Regions from separate parts of the Homo sapiens genome. Here region 1 is linked to region 2. Evidence: promoter capture Hi-C in human tissues and cell types (Jung and others, 2019). All regions are on one chromosome and are shown on one strand. Each heading gives the region's core, a stretch centred on a gene start or on the middle of the fragment in contact. The rest is flanking DNA. Distances are from core to core; before and after follow the strand shown. Region 1 holds the start of GNG14 (G protein subunit gamma 14). Region 2 holds the start of ZNF491 (zinc finger protein 491).

Evidence for each region. The method cuts DNA at HindIII sites, captures the fragments that hold promoters and counts their contacts. A contact is called where the count stands out against the background at its distance.
Region 1: a contact is called between a fragment that was not itself captured here and the fragment with the promoter of ZNF491 in region 2, in 1 of the 25 tissues and cell types used here (dorsolateral prefrontal cortex).

What each region holds. Positions count from the first base shown.
Region 1 is chr19:12,682,068-12,688,973 of GRCh38, reverse strand. GNG14 (G protein subunit gamma 14) reads right to left here and starts at 976. Exons shown (of 1, transcript NM_001316692.2): 1 at 552-976. The coding sequence starts at 925. The coding sequence ends at 602. It overlaps FBXW9 (F-box and WD repeat domain containing 9), which reads left to right. Exons shown (of 10, transcript NM_032301.3): 10 at 1-58. RefSeq lists enhancers at 5,351-5,873, 6,397-6,906 and a cis regulatory region at 6,803-6,906. The HindIII fragment of the contact is 4,816 bases long and covers 468-5,283 here.
Region 2 is chr19:11,794,091-11,800,051 of GRCh38, reverse strand. ZNF491 (zinc finger protein 491) reads right to left here and starts at 1,529. Exons shown (of 3, transcript NM_152356.4): 1 at 1,325-1,529. RefSeq lists enhancers at 1,268-1,427, 1,438-1,537, 1,763-2,274 and a silencer at 2,368-2,537. The HindIII fragment of the contact is 4,685 bases long and covers 1-4,557 here.

The sequences.
Region 1 (6,906 bases), core at 1,626-4,125, 890 kb before region 2:
ATGCCCCGCTCTCAGTTGAGAGCGAAGGAGAAATAAACCTGACATGTTGGTGCTTGGGCCTGGAGTGTGAGTGTGGTTTGCCTGCTGGGGTTCTGCCTGTGCCTGCTTGGGGCTGTGGGGCTGCGGGCCTGCATGGGAGTGACTGGGAGAGATAGCAAGTCTGGGCTGGGGGTGCATGTCAGCTGTTGCTGTGCATTTGAAGAGGGAGAGTCCTGAGGATCGTGGGCATCTGTGTCTATGATGTCACGTGTGTGTGTGATGTGTGACGCGTGTGGTGTATAGATTATGACTCAAATCCTGGCCATTTGTCTGCACGGTGGGAAAGGGTACCTGCTCAGGCTATCCCATGGGTGCTGGCGAGGGCAAGAGGGATGGCGTGCTCTCCGTCTGGGGCTCCAGGGTGTGTGTGTGCTGCTGTGGCTGTGACCCCGGGGGCAGGCAGGGAGGGAGGCTGGGCCAGGTACGCACCTGGCCCCTGCAAGCCCAAAGTCCCTCTGGTCTCCCATCTCAGCCCAGCTCAGCCATGCCCTGAGAAGTATTCACTTCATGTTTATTGAGGCCCCCTGGTTTGCCCAGGCCACAGGGTGGCATTGCCCTGGGTTCATAGGATGGCATAGGGCTTCTTCTCCTTGAAGGAGTTGGTGGCGGCCGGGATGCCCACAAGGAAGGGGTCATTCTTGGCCTGCTCCGTGCAGAACTTCAGCAGATCGGCGGCCATCTTTGGACACCTGCAGACCAACTGGTTCAGCCAGACCAGACCCAGGCATGCACCTGTCCCCTGGCCCATGTGTTCCCACCTCTTCCCGCCTCCTGCACTGGCCCCGACCCTCACCTTCACTTGGTCGATGCCTGCCTCCATCTGGAGCTGCTCCACTGCCCAGAGGGCCTGCCCAATGTCACTGTTGATGGCCACCTTGCTGGACATCTGGGTAAAGTGGGCAGGCCGTGGGCAGCAGGCCCAACCTCAGTCCCCTAGGGGGAGCCTAGGGCTGCCCGAGGGTTCCCACACCTCCTTCTATGTTCCTTGGGGGCTGCAGGATGAGGGTGGCTGCTCCTGGACCCATCAGGCCCACACACCTCGGCTAAGGGCTCCGGCCCAAGTCACCTCTGGCTGCCTGGTCCTCTGGTGGCCACCCTGCTGTGGCTCCCTCCCCAACCCAGCCTGTCCTCTTCAACCCCCTTTTCTCCCTCGGCTACCCCTGCAAAGACTTTGAAGCCAGGGCTCTCATGGAGTGAAATGTCACCAGCTGCAGCAGCAGCTGCTGCCTCGGCTGAGGGGGTCCCTGCCCCAGGAGGCCCTGTGGCTCCTCTGGTGTCATGTGTCACCTGGGTCCCTGTGGGCTAGGTGCCTTGGCTGGGGGAGTGAGGAGGCCCTGGCCTCCCCCTGGCCTGCTGGATCTCCTGCTAACTGTTCCCAACACATCTGCTTTGTCAGCCTCTGCCATCTCCAACATGCAGCCTTGCCTCTCCTCCTGTTGTCGCCACTGCTCAGGCTCAAATCTCCAATGCCTTCGTTCTTTTTTTTTTTTTTTTTTTTTTTTTTGAGAGAGAGTCTTGCTCTATCACCCATGTTGGAGTGCAGTGGTGCGATCTCAGCTCACTTTCAACCTCCACCTCCCGGGCTCAAGTGATTCTCCTGCCTCAGCCTCCTGAGTAGCTGGGATTACAGGCGTATGCTACCACACCCGGCTAATTTTTTTTTTTTTTTTTTTTTTGAGATGGTATTTCGCTCTTGTTGCCCAGGCTAGAGTGCAATAGCGTGATTTCGGCTCACTGCAACCTCCGCCTTCTGGGTTCAAGCGATTCTTCTGCCTCAGCCTCTCGAGTAGCTGGGATTACAGGCATGTGCCACCATGCTCGGCTAATTTTTTGTATTTTTAGTAGAGATGAGGTTTCACCATGTTGGTCAGGCTGGTCTTGAACTCCTGATCTCAGGTGATCCACTTGCCTCAGCCTCCCAAAGTGCTGGGATTACAGGCATGAGCCACTGCGCCCGGCCACACCTGGCTAATTTTTGTATTTTTAGTAGAGAAGGGGTTTCACCATGTTGGCCAGGCTGGTCTCGAACTCCTGACCTCAAGTGATCCACCTGCTTCGGCCTCCCAAAGTGCTGGGATTACAGGTGTGAGCCATCGTGCCTGGCCTTCTTTTCTTTTTTTAAGCCCAGGTTCTCGCTCTGTCGTCCAGGCTGGAGTGCAGTGGTACAATCATAGCTCACTGTAACTTCAAACTCCTGGGCTCAAGTGATCCTCTCAACTCAGCCTCCTGATTAGCTAGAATTATAGGCGTGAGCCACCGTGCCCTGCTAATTTATGTTTTTAACTTTTTGTAGAGATGGTTCTTACTATGTTGCCCAGGCTGGTCTTGAACTCCTGGCCTCAAACGATCCTCTTGCCTTGGCCTTCCAAAGGAATTATAGGCATAAGCCACTGAGCCCTGCCCCGAGATTCTAATATGTGCCCAGCACTGTGCAAAAACCCAAATTAGCAATGAAACAAGACAAAACCTTGCCCTCATGGAGCTGCCTTTCTAGTTAGGCAGGGATGGACAACAGAAAATGTACTCAGTGAAAGAGTATACATGTGAAAGGGCATATGAAAGAAGAATAAAATCAAAGTAAAGGGGAGAGGAGTGGTCAGGGCAGGCCTCTCAGAGGAGGTGACATTTGAACTTAGGCCCAAAGGAGGAGAAGGAACTGAGAAATGGGGTGTTCTAGGCAGAAGGAGCGGCAAGTACCTGACTCCTTGGACAAAAAAGAGCTTGGTGGGTTCCAGGAATAGCAAAGAGGTCTGTGTAGCTGGAGAGGAGAGAGGGAGGGAGGGCCAGCATGGTGGGAGATGGCAGCAGGGAGGTTGAGAGGTGCCCTTTAAGGCCACTGTGAAAAGCTTGGATTTTACTCCCAGGGGGAAGCTACCATTAGGAGGTTTTAACAGTGACATGTTTGATTTATGGTTAAAGAGCTGTGGCATGCACCTGTAGTCCCAGCTACTGGGGAGGCTGAAGTGGGAGGATCACTTGAGGCCAGGAGGTCGAAGCTGCAGTGAGGTGTGATTGTCCCACTGCACTCCAGCCCTGGTGACAGAGTGAGACCCTGCATCAAAAAAAAAAGCTCAGCGGCTGGGCACGGTGGCTCATGCCTGTAATCCCAGCACTTTGGGAGGCTGAGGTGGGCGGATCACGAGGTCAGGAGATCAAGACCATCCTGGCTAACATGGTGAAACCCCGTCTCTACTAAAAATACAAAAAATTAGCTGGGCGTGTGGCGGGCGCCTGTAGTCCCAGCTACTTGGGAGGCTGAGGCAGGAGACTGGCGTGAACCCGGGAGGTGGAGCTTGTAGTGAGCCGAAATCACACCACTACACTCCAGCCTGGGCGACAGAGCAAGACTCCGTCTCAAAAAAAAAAAAAAAAAAAAAAAAGCTCTCTGATTTTAGCTGTTAGGTGGGAGATGGGTTGGAGGATACCAAAGCCAGCTTGCAGGCTATGGGGATAAAGAAAACACCTGGATTTCGGACCTACTTTATAGGTAGAGGTTGGCAGACATGCTGAGAAGGATGGATGTGGGGTGTGAGAAAAGGGGAGACAGCAAGCTGCGCTCCTCATTTTTAATTTTTATTTATCTATTTTTGAGACGGAGTTTCGCTCTGTTGCCCAGGCTGGAGTGCAGTGGCACCATCTCAGCTCACTGCAACCTCCACCTCCCGGGTTCAAGTGATTCTCCTGCCTCAGCCTCCTGAGTAGCTGGGATTATGGGTGTGCGCCACCACACCCGGCTAATTTTTGTATTTTTTAGTAGAGACGGGGTTTCGCCATGTTGTCCAGGCTGGTCTCTAACTCCTAACCTCAGGTGATCTGCCCTCCTTGGCATCCCAAAGTGCTGGGATTACAGGTGTGAGCCACCGCGCCCAGCCCCAATCCCTATTTTTCAGTCTAGTGGATGAGTGGAGGGTGGGGCCGTTTGCTGAGATGCAGAAAGATCAGGGATAGGTGGAGAGGGAGCTGAGGGGGCAACTTTGAGGTCCAAGCGAGGATGTCAAGGAGGATGTCTGTCTCCTCCAACAAGGTAGGCTCATTCCAGCCTCACGGCTTTTGCTGTTCTGTCTTCCCATGTGCAGGAAATGGCCTCTCTGCATCTTCACATACGGGGATTTTCTCAGCCTTCTGGCTTTGGCTCAAATCTCACCTCCTTGGCGTCCTTCACCCATCCCTCCAACTAAAATCCCGAACTCCTCCACCTAAAGACTCAAATTATCCTGTTTAAATCCTGATTGCGCTGGGCGCGGTGGCTCACACCTGTAATCCCAGCACTTTGGGAGGCCGAGGCAGGCAGATCACCTGAGGTCAGGAGTTCGAGACTAGCCTGACCAACATAGTGAAACCCCATCTCTACTAAAAATACAAGAATTAGCCGGGCGTGATGGCTCATGCCTGTAATCCCAGCTACTCGGGAGGCTGAGGCAGGAGAATTGCTTGAAACTGGGAGGCAGAGGTTGCGATGAGTGGAGATCGCGCCATTGCACTCCAGCCTGGGCAACAAGAGCGAAACTCTGTCTCCAAAAAAAACAAAAAACAAAAAAGGCCTGATAGCACTCACCACTATTGTTAACTTTCTATCTTCCCAATCAGATTGTGGGCTCCAGTAGGGCAGGGTCCACATCTTGGTCTTGTTCACCACTAAATCCTTAGTGCCTAGCACGGAGCCCACCATAGAGAATAGACTACATGAATTGTAGAGTGAGTGAATAATCCTGTTGGCCGTATGCACTGTTAGGAGGGTGTGTTTGAGATACAGATGACACCCAGGGTCTCACATTCTTGCAGGAGGGAAAGAGACGTCAGCCCTGGGTCCCAGAAGAGGCCACTGACCCAGTGGGAGTTCAGGGAAGGCTTCCCAGAGGAGGTGGAGGTGACAGCTGCAGCTATAAGGGAAGGAAGAACAGAGCGTTATGCAGCATGTGAAGGCTTTGGAGACTTGTGAGGGCACGAACCGGGCTCACTATCCCATTAGACAAAAGTGGCTGAGGAAGGATGAAACTGTGTCTAACTCTGCCTGGTGACCGAAATCTTGTCCATGGGTGACGCTTAAGAAGTGACCCTCGGCCGGGCGCAGTGGCTCACGCCTGTAATCCTGGCACTTTGGGAGGCCAAGGCGGGCGGGTCACGAGTTCAGGAGATCGAGACCATCCTGGCTAACACGGTGAAACCCCATCTCTACTAAAAACAGAAAAAATTAGCCGGGTGTGGTGGCGGGCACCTGTAGTCCCAGTTACTCGGGAGGCTGAGGCAGGAGAATGGCATGAACCTGGGAGGCAGAGCTTGCAGTGAGCCGAGATTGCGCCACTGCACTCCAGCCTGGGCGACAGAGCGAGACTCTGTCTCAAAAAAAAAAAAAAAAAAAAAAGTGACCCTCATAAAAAAATTAGCTGGGCACGATGGTGCACACTAGTCGGAATGCTGGGGTGGGAGGATGACCTGAGTCCGGGAGTCAGAGGTTGCAGTGGGCCGAGATCGCGTCACAGCACTCCAGCCTGGCGACAGAGTGAGACCCTATCAAAAAATAGCAGCAGGCCAGGCGCGGTGGCTCATGCCTGTAATCCCAGCACTTTGGGAGGCTGAGGCGGGCGGATCACGAGGTCAGGAGATCGAGACTACCCTGGCTAACACGGTGAAACCCCGTCTCTACTAAAAATACAAAATATTAGCCGGGCGTGGTGGCCGGCGCCTGTAGTCCCAGTTACTGGGGAGGCTGAGGCAGAAGAATGGCGTGAACCTGGGAGGCGGAGGTTGCAGTGAGCCGAGATCGTGCCACTGCACTCCAGCCTGGGAGACAGCGCAAGACTCTAGCTCAAACAAACAAACAAACAAAACAGCAACAACAACAACAAAACCATCCTCCCCTCCCGAGGGGACAGAACAGAAACGAATGGGCGAGTGCCGGGCCAAGCAGTGGGTCTCCAGCAGGTGGCATTAAAATAGGAATTTTGGCTGGGGACGGTGGCTCACACCTGTAATCTCAGCACTTTGGAAAGCCCAGGCGGGCGGTCACCTGAGGGCAGAACCAGCCTCGCCAACATGGTGAAATGCCATCTCTACTAAAAATAAAAAATTAGCCAGGCCTGGTGGTGGGTGTCTGTAATCCCAGCAACTCGGGAGGCTGAGGCAGGAGAATCGCTTGAACCAGGGGGGCAGAGGTTGCAATGAGTCAAGATTGCACCACCGCACTCCAGCCTGCGTAACAAGAGCGTGTAACTCTTGTCTCAAAAATAAATTAAATAAATAAATAATAAAAATAAAAAAGAATCTTCATTCATGGGAAGTCGAGAACACATGAAAACAAGTAAAGGCCGAAGCGCAGTGGCTCACGCCTGTAATCCCAGCACTTTGGGAGGCTGAGGCGGGCGGATAACCTGAGGTCGGAAGTTCGAGACCAGCCTGACCAACAGGGAGAAACCCCGCCTCTACTAAAAATACAAAATTAGCCGGGCATGGCGGTGCATGCCAGTAGTCCCAGCTACTCGGGAGGCTGAGGCAGGAGAATCGCTTGAACCCGGAATGTGGAGGTTGTGGTGAGCTGAGATCGGGCAATTGCACTCCAGCCTGGGCAACAAGAGCGAAACCCTGTATCAAAAAAAAAAAAAAGAAAAAAAAAGGAAGAAAAGGCCTAAAGGCGCCGGGCGCGGTGGGTCACGCCTGTAATCCCAGCACTTTGGGAGGCCGAGGCGGGCGAATCACGAGGTCAGGAGATCGAGACCAGGTGAAACCCCGTCTCTACTAAAAATACAAAAAAATTAGCCGGGCGTGGTGGTGGGCGCCTGTAGTCCCAGCTACTCGGGAGGCTGAGGCAGGAGAACAGCGTGAACCCGGAAAGCGGAGCTGGCAGTGAGCTGAGATCGCGCCACTGCACTC
Region 2 (5,961 bases), core at 280-2,779:
GCTGTAAATTCAATACTGTCGTTGATGCAGCCTTCACCTCCTGGGCTCAAGCAATTCTCCTGCCTCAGCCTCCAGACTAACTACAGAAGCGGCCATCATACCTGACTAATTTTTTTTTTTTTTAACAGAGTCTCGCTCTGTCGCCAGGCTGGAGTGCAGTGGCACCATCTCGGCTCACGCAACCTCCGCCTCCTGCGTTCAAGCGATTGTCTTGCCTCAGCCTCCCGAGTAGCCGGATTACAGGCACGTGCCACCACGCCCAGCTAATTTTTGTATTTTTGGTAGAGTCGGGGTTTCACCATGTTGGCCAGGATGGTCTCGAATTCCTGACCTCGTCATCCGCCCGCCTCGGCCTCCCAAAGTGCTGGGATTGTAGACGTGAGCCACCGCGCCCGGCCATACCCGACTAATTTTTTAAAATATTTTGTACAGACGGGGTCTCGCCATGTTGTCCACGCTGGCATCACCTTGCCTTACGCTGGAATGTTAAATATACTCTTTTAAATTGGAAAGGAAATGAAACCCAAATGTAAAGAAAAAAAAAAAAAAGCTCTATGGGGGCGGGGGGAGGGGGGCGGGCCAAACTCTGATTAAATTGTTGTGCCTCACAAACTAGCCTTGTATAAAAAACGTTGTAATCCTGTTAAATTTCTTGCCTATATAAGCAAGAACTTAAACTTTTAAATTTGAAACACTGAGCCCATTTCCGTGGATCCTGTGTTTTCCCAAATGGGCCATTCCCAGCTTCTTGCTTGAGTAAACTTTAAAAAACTGGAATCTGATTCTTTTATTTCAGGTTGACAAGTCCACATACGGCGACAGCATCACTGTAACTAATCAAGTATTTAATCCTGTTTGCCTCCTCATGCAACTTATAAAAGCCTTTTCTTCAATCACAAGCCATGACCGGGTGTTTCTCACTCGGAATCGCTGTTGCTCCAACAAACTCTTTAACTGTTAACAGAGCCTCAGTTTAATTTTTAGCAGAAGAAAGGCGGGACACATCCGACCCCCCATGACCCTCCCGTGGCCCCCGCACAATCTGGGAAGACGCCGGGCTGCGGGCGCGGAGCTGCCCAGAGAGGACTCCGGGGCCGGGGCCGCAGTCGCCGCGTAGGGACGGGACAGGACGCCCGGGGTCCCAGCTGCGGGCCCAGCCCCACCTGGCGGCCGAGCGGACCGAGGGCCAAGCCACGCCATGGGGGACGCGGGTCCCAATCGCCGGGGTCGCCCGAGCGGAGGCCTGGGTCCCGCCACAGCAGGATCCTGTTGGTTCCACCCAGCCCCTCTTCCACGTATCTGGACGCTAGGCCGGGCACTTTACCATTTCCCTGCTTCTTGGTGTCCCGGCGTCCTCTTTATGACTCCGGAGCAGGTCACAGCGCAGGTGACAGCGTCACAGGAGCCGTGGCGGAGGCACCTGGGGCCTCTCGGAGCAGCAAGGACTGGATGCAGAACGCAACGGACCCCAGCAACAAAGGAGTGCAGAGACTCTGAGTGCGGCCTTCTGCTTCCCCGGATTGACAGTTGGCAGGGCCCCGTCCCAGGGCCCCTGATTGGATGGGGTTCCAGGCTCCGCCCCTCAGCCCTGAGTGACAGGGTAAGCCCTGGGTAACGGAGCCCTGCAGAGCCCGGCTGATTAATCCTAGCTACAGCCTTTCTAAGGCTAAGCTCACTCCCTGCGCCCTGGTCGTTGGCTATCTGCATTTCAGCCAAACTTGCTACTTATTGTTAGAAGGGGCACTGTTAGCTTCCTCGATCTTTCAGAAATGTGTGCTGGGAATTCCAGACTCGGTGTTCAATGGAGTCATTCCTTTGCCTCATAGCAGGAAGGAAATCCAGGCCAGGCCAGGCCAGGCAAGACTGCACCAGGAGGGAGAGGCAGGTGTCCTCTACAGGGCGGGAATTGGGGATGAGACTTCCTCACACTCCCCCCGTCCCACCCCTGAATATGGAACCGCTTCCTCCCCCTAGACTTCATTTTCACCAGCAGAAGTTCTCACCTGGGGTCAGTTTAAGCTTCTAACCTAAGTAAACTATTACCTTCACAAACCCTTTCTCCAGGTGACATGTCAGACAAATCTTACTGAGCCTGATCTTCACAGATTATCTTTGTATGTACAAATTACAGTCTGTCGCCGGGACCCTTTGCACGTAAAAACCAAACACTGCCCCCGCAAAACGTCCCTAGGCTCTAGGTACAGCCCCAGTAAGGACAGAACCTCCCCCCAACCCCCCTACACAAAGTGCACCTGCACGTGAGTCTCCTGCTTTCCAGGGCTCTGTAGCTTCTCAGGATCCACATTCCTTCCGCAGCTGTTCTGAGCAGCTGGAGGCCACCTGCAGTAGAGGGCAGGCTGCCCGGGAAACACCCAGGGGAGCTCCCTTTCCCTCCCTTTGCCGGCTCCAGACTGGCCTCAGCAGGGTGTCACTGGCCTTAGGCTCTGCTGCCCCCTACAGGTTATTCACTTCATTGATCGGTTACCTGAGACAAACACCCTCAGTTCCACTGTACGTATGTATAAAGTGGGGAAGGAAAATTCTAAGATAATTGAAGTGAATTAAAAGACTTGCAGGCAGGGTGCGGGGGCTCACGCCTATAATCCCAACCCTTTTGGAGGCTGAAGCGGGAGGACTGCTTGAACCCAGGAGTTCATCATCCTGGAAAACGGAGCCACACCTCGTCTGTACTAAAAATTTAAAAATTAGCAGTGCGTGGTGTCCTGAACCTGTAGTCCCAGCTACTCGGGAGGCTGAGGTGGGAAGATCTTGAGCCCAGGAGTTTGAAGCTTCAGTGACCTATGATCTCGCCACTGTGCTTCAGCAAGAGTTGTGATAGTTGTATCAGATAAAATAGACTTTAAATAAAAAACAGTACAAAAAGACAAAGAAGATCATGAGATACTGATAACAGAATCAATTCAGCAAGATAATATAGTAATACTAAATATATATGCATCCAACATTGGAGAGGCCAAATTAATAAAGCAAATATTTCTAGACCTAAAGAAAGATATAGATAGCAATACAATAATAGTATGGGACTTCAGCACCTCACACACAGTAGTAGATATATCATCAAGACAGACAATCAACAAAAAAATTGGACTTAAGTTGGACTTTGGACCAAATGGAGCTAACAGACGTTTACAGAACCCAACAACTGCAGAATATACATTCTTCTCATCAGTACGTGAAACATTCTCCAAGGTAGACCATATGTTAGGCCACAAAACTAGTCTCGACAAATTTTAAAGTCAAAATCATTTCAAGCATCTTCTCAGACTGCTGAATAAAACTAAAAATCAATACCAAGAGGAACTTTGAAAACTGTATAAATACATGGAAATTAAACAATGTGCTCCTGAATGATCTCTGAGTCAAAGAAGAAATAAAAACAGAAAATAAAAATTTTGTTTGAAATGAACAAAAATGGCAACACAACATATCAAAACCTCTGGGATATAGGAAAAGTCATGCTAAGAGGGAAGTTTATAGAATTATATGCCTCTGTCAAAAAAGTAACAAATTAACAACCTAACATGGTACCCCATGGAACTAGGAAAACAAGAACAAAACAAATCCAAAGTTGGCAGAAAAGAAATAACAAAGATCAGAGCAGAATTAAACAAAATCAAGACTAAAAAACAACACAAATGATAAACGAAACAAAAAGTTGGTTCTTTGAAAATATCAACAAAAGTAATAAACTGCTGGCTAGACTAACCAAGAAAAAAAAGAAGATTCAAATGAACAAAACCAGAATTGAAAAAGAAGACATTACACCAATACCACAGAAATACCATCAGAGACTACTATGAACAACTATATGCTCACAACCTAGAAAACCTATAGGTTTTTTTGAAACGTATAACCTCCCAGGATTGAACCAAGAAGAAACAGATATCCTGAATAGACCAATAATAAGTAGCAATATTGAATCAGCAATAAAAAAATTCCCAAAAATGAAAGCTCTGGGCCAGACAGATTTATACCAAAATTGTACCAAATAGGCCAGATGTGGTGGCTCATGCCTGTAATCATAGCACTGTGGAGCCTGAGACAGGAGGATTGCTTGAGGCCAGGAGTTTGAGACCACCCTGGCCAACATAACAAGATCCCATCTCTAAGTAAAAAAATAAAAATTTAAAAATCAACATTAAAAAAATTATACCAAACATACAAAAAGAACTATACTAATAATCCTGAAACTGTCCCTAAAAATCACAGACAAGGGAAATCTCCCTAACTCATTCTATGAGGCCAGTAACATCCTAATACCAAAAACAGACAAGGACACAACAACAAAACTACAGACCAATATCCCCGATGAACACGGATGTGAAAATCCCCAACAAAACACTAGCAAACTGAATCCAACCGCACATTAAAAAGATAATACAGCATGATAAAGTAGGTTTTATACCAGGAATGCAAAAATGGTCCAACACACACAAGTTAATATATGTAACACATCACAAAAACAGAATGAAGAATAAAAACCATATGATCATCTCAATAGATTTAGAAAACACACTTGATAAAATTCAGCATCCTTCATGATAAAAGCTCAAAAAACTAGGTACAGAATGAACATATCTCAAAATAATAAAAGCCACACATGATAAACACACAGCCAACATCATACTGAATGGGGAAATAGTTGAATGATAAAAACTAGAACAAGATTAAGGATGCCTACTTTCACCACTCTTATTCAACCCTAGTATAGGAAGTCTTGGCCAGAGCAATCAGGCAAGAGAAAGAAATAAAAGACATGCAAATTGGAAAAGAGGAAGTCAAATTATTCCTGTTCAGTGATATATAATCTTACATCTAGAAACGCTTAAGACTCCACCAAAAATCTCTTAGATTAGTTAAATTAATTCAGGAGTTTCAGGATACAAAGTCAGTGTACAAAAGTCAGCAGTGTTTCTATACAGCAACAACAATCTAGCTGAGAACCAAATCGAGAAAGCAATACCACTTACGAGAGCTACCAAATAACACCCCACCCCACATGGGAATATATTGCACCAAGGAGGTGAAAGGCCTCTACAAAAAGAAAAAATCTATAAAACACTGATTAAAGAATTACAGATGACACAAACAAATGGAAAAAACATTTCATGCTTATGGAAAGAACTAATATCAGAAGAATTAATTTCATTAATTATTCAGAAAGAATTAATATCATTAAAATGACTATACTTCCCAAAGCAATCTACAGAGTCAATGCAATTCTTATCAAAATACCAATGTTAGTTTTCACATAATTAGGAAAAACAATCCTAAAATTCATATAGAACCAAAAAAGTGCCCGAATAACCAAAGCAATCCTAAACAAAAAGAACAAAGTTGGAGGCAATGTTACAGGACAGGGGTCCCAATCCAGACCCCAAGAGAGGGTTTTCGAATTTCCTGCAAGAAAGAGTTCAAGGCAAGTCTGCAGTGCAAAGTAAAAGCAAGTTTATTAAGAAAGTAAAGTGGTGAAAGAACAGCTACTCCCCAGAAAGAGTTGGATGTTTCTGTAAGTAAGAGGAGGAACGCATCCACCCTAGGTACAATGATGCTTGTATATATGGGCAGATGTGCTCTGCTATAAGGGTCCATGATAAAGGATTAATTTTCTTAATTACTATATTTTGCAAGAATTGATATTATTATCTTTAAAGCAAAATTAGAAATGCCTTTGTTCTCCAGATATTGGGATATCTGGACACTACCAAGTCTGGGTCTTGGTAAACATTATTAATTTGTTCCTTTAACTGTAAACACCTAGAAGCGAGGTATGCCTAACTTTCTGGGAATGAAGCCCAGCAATTCCCAGCCTCACTTTCCTAGCCCTCAGAATGGAGTCGCTCTGGTTCGAATGCCTCTGACAGCAACACATTACCTAACTTCAAGTTATACTACAAGGCTATTGCAATCAAATCAGCATGTTACTGGTATAAAAATATA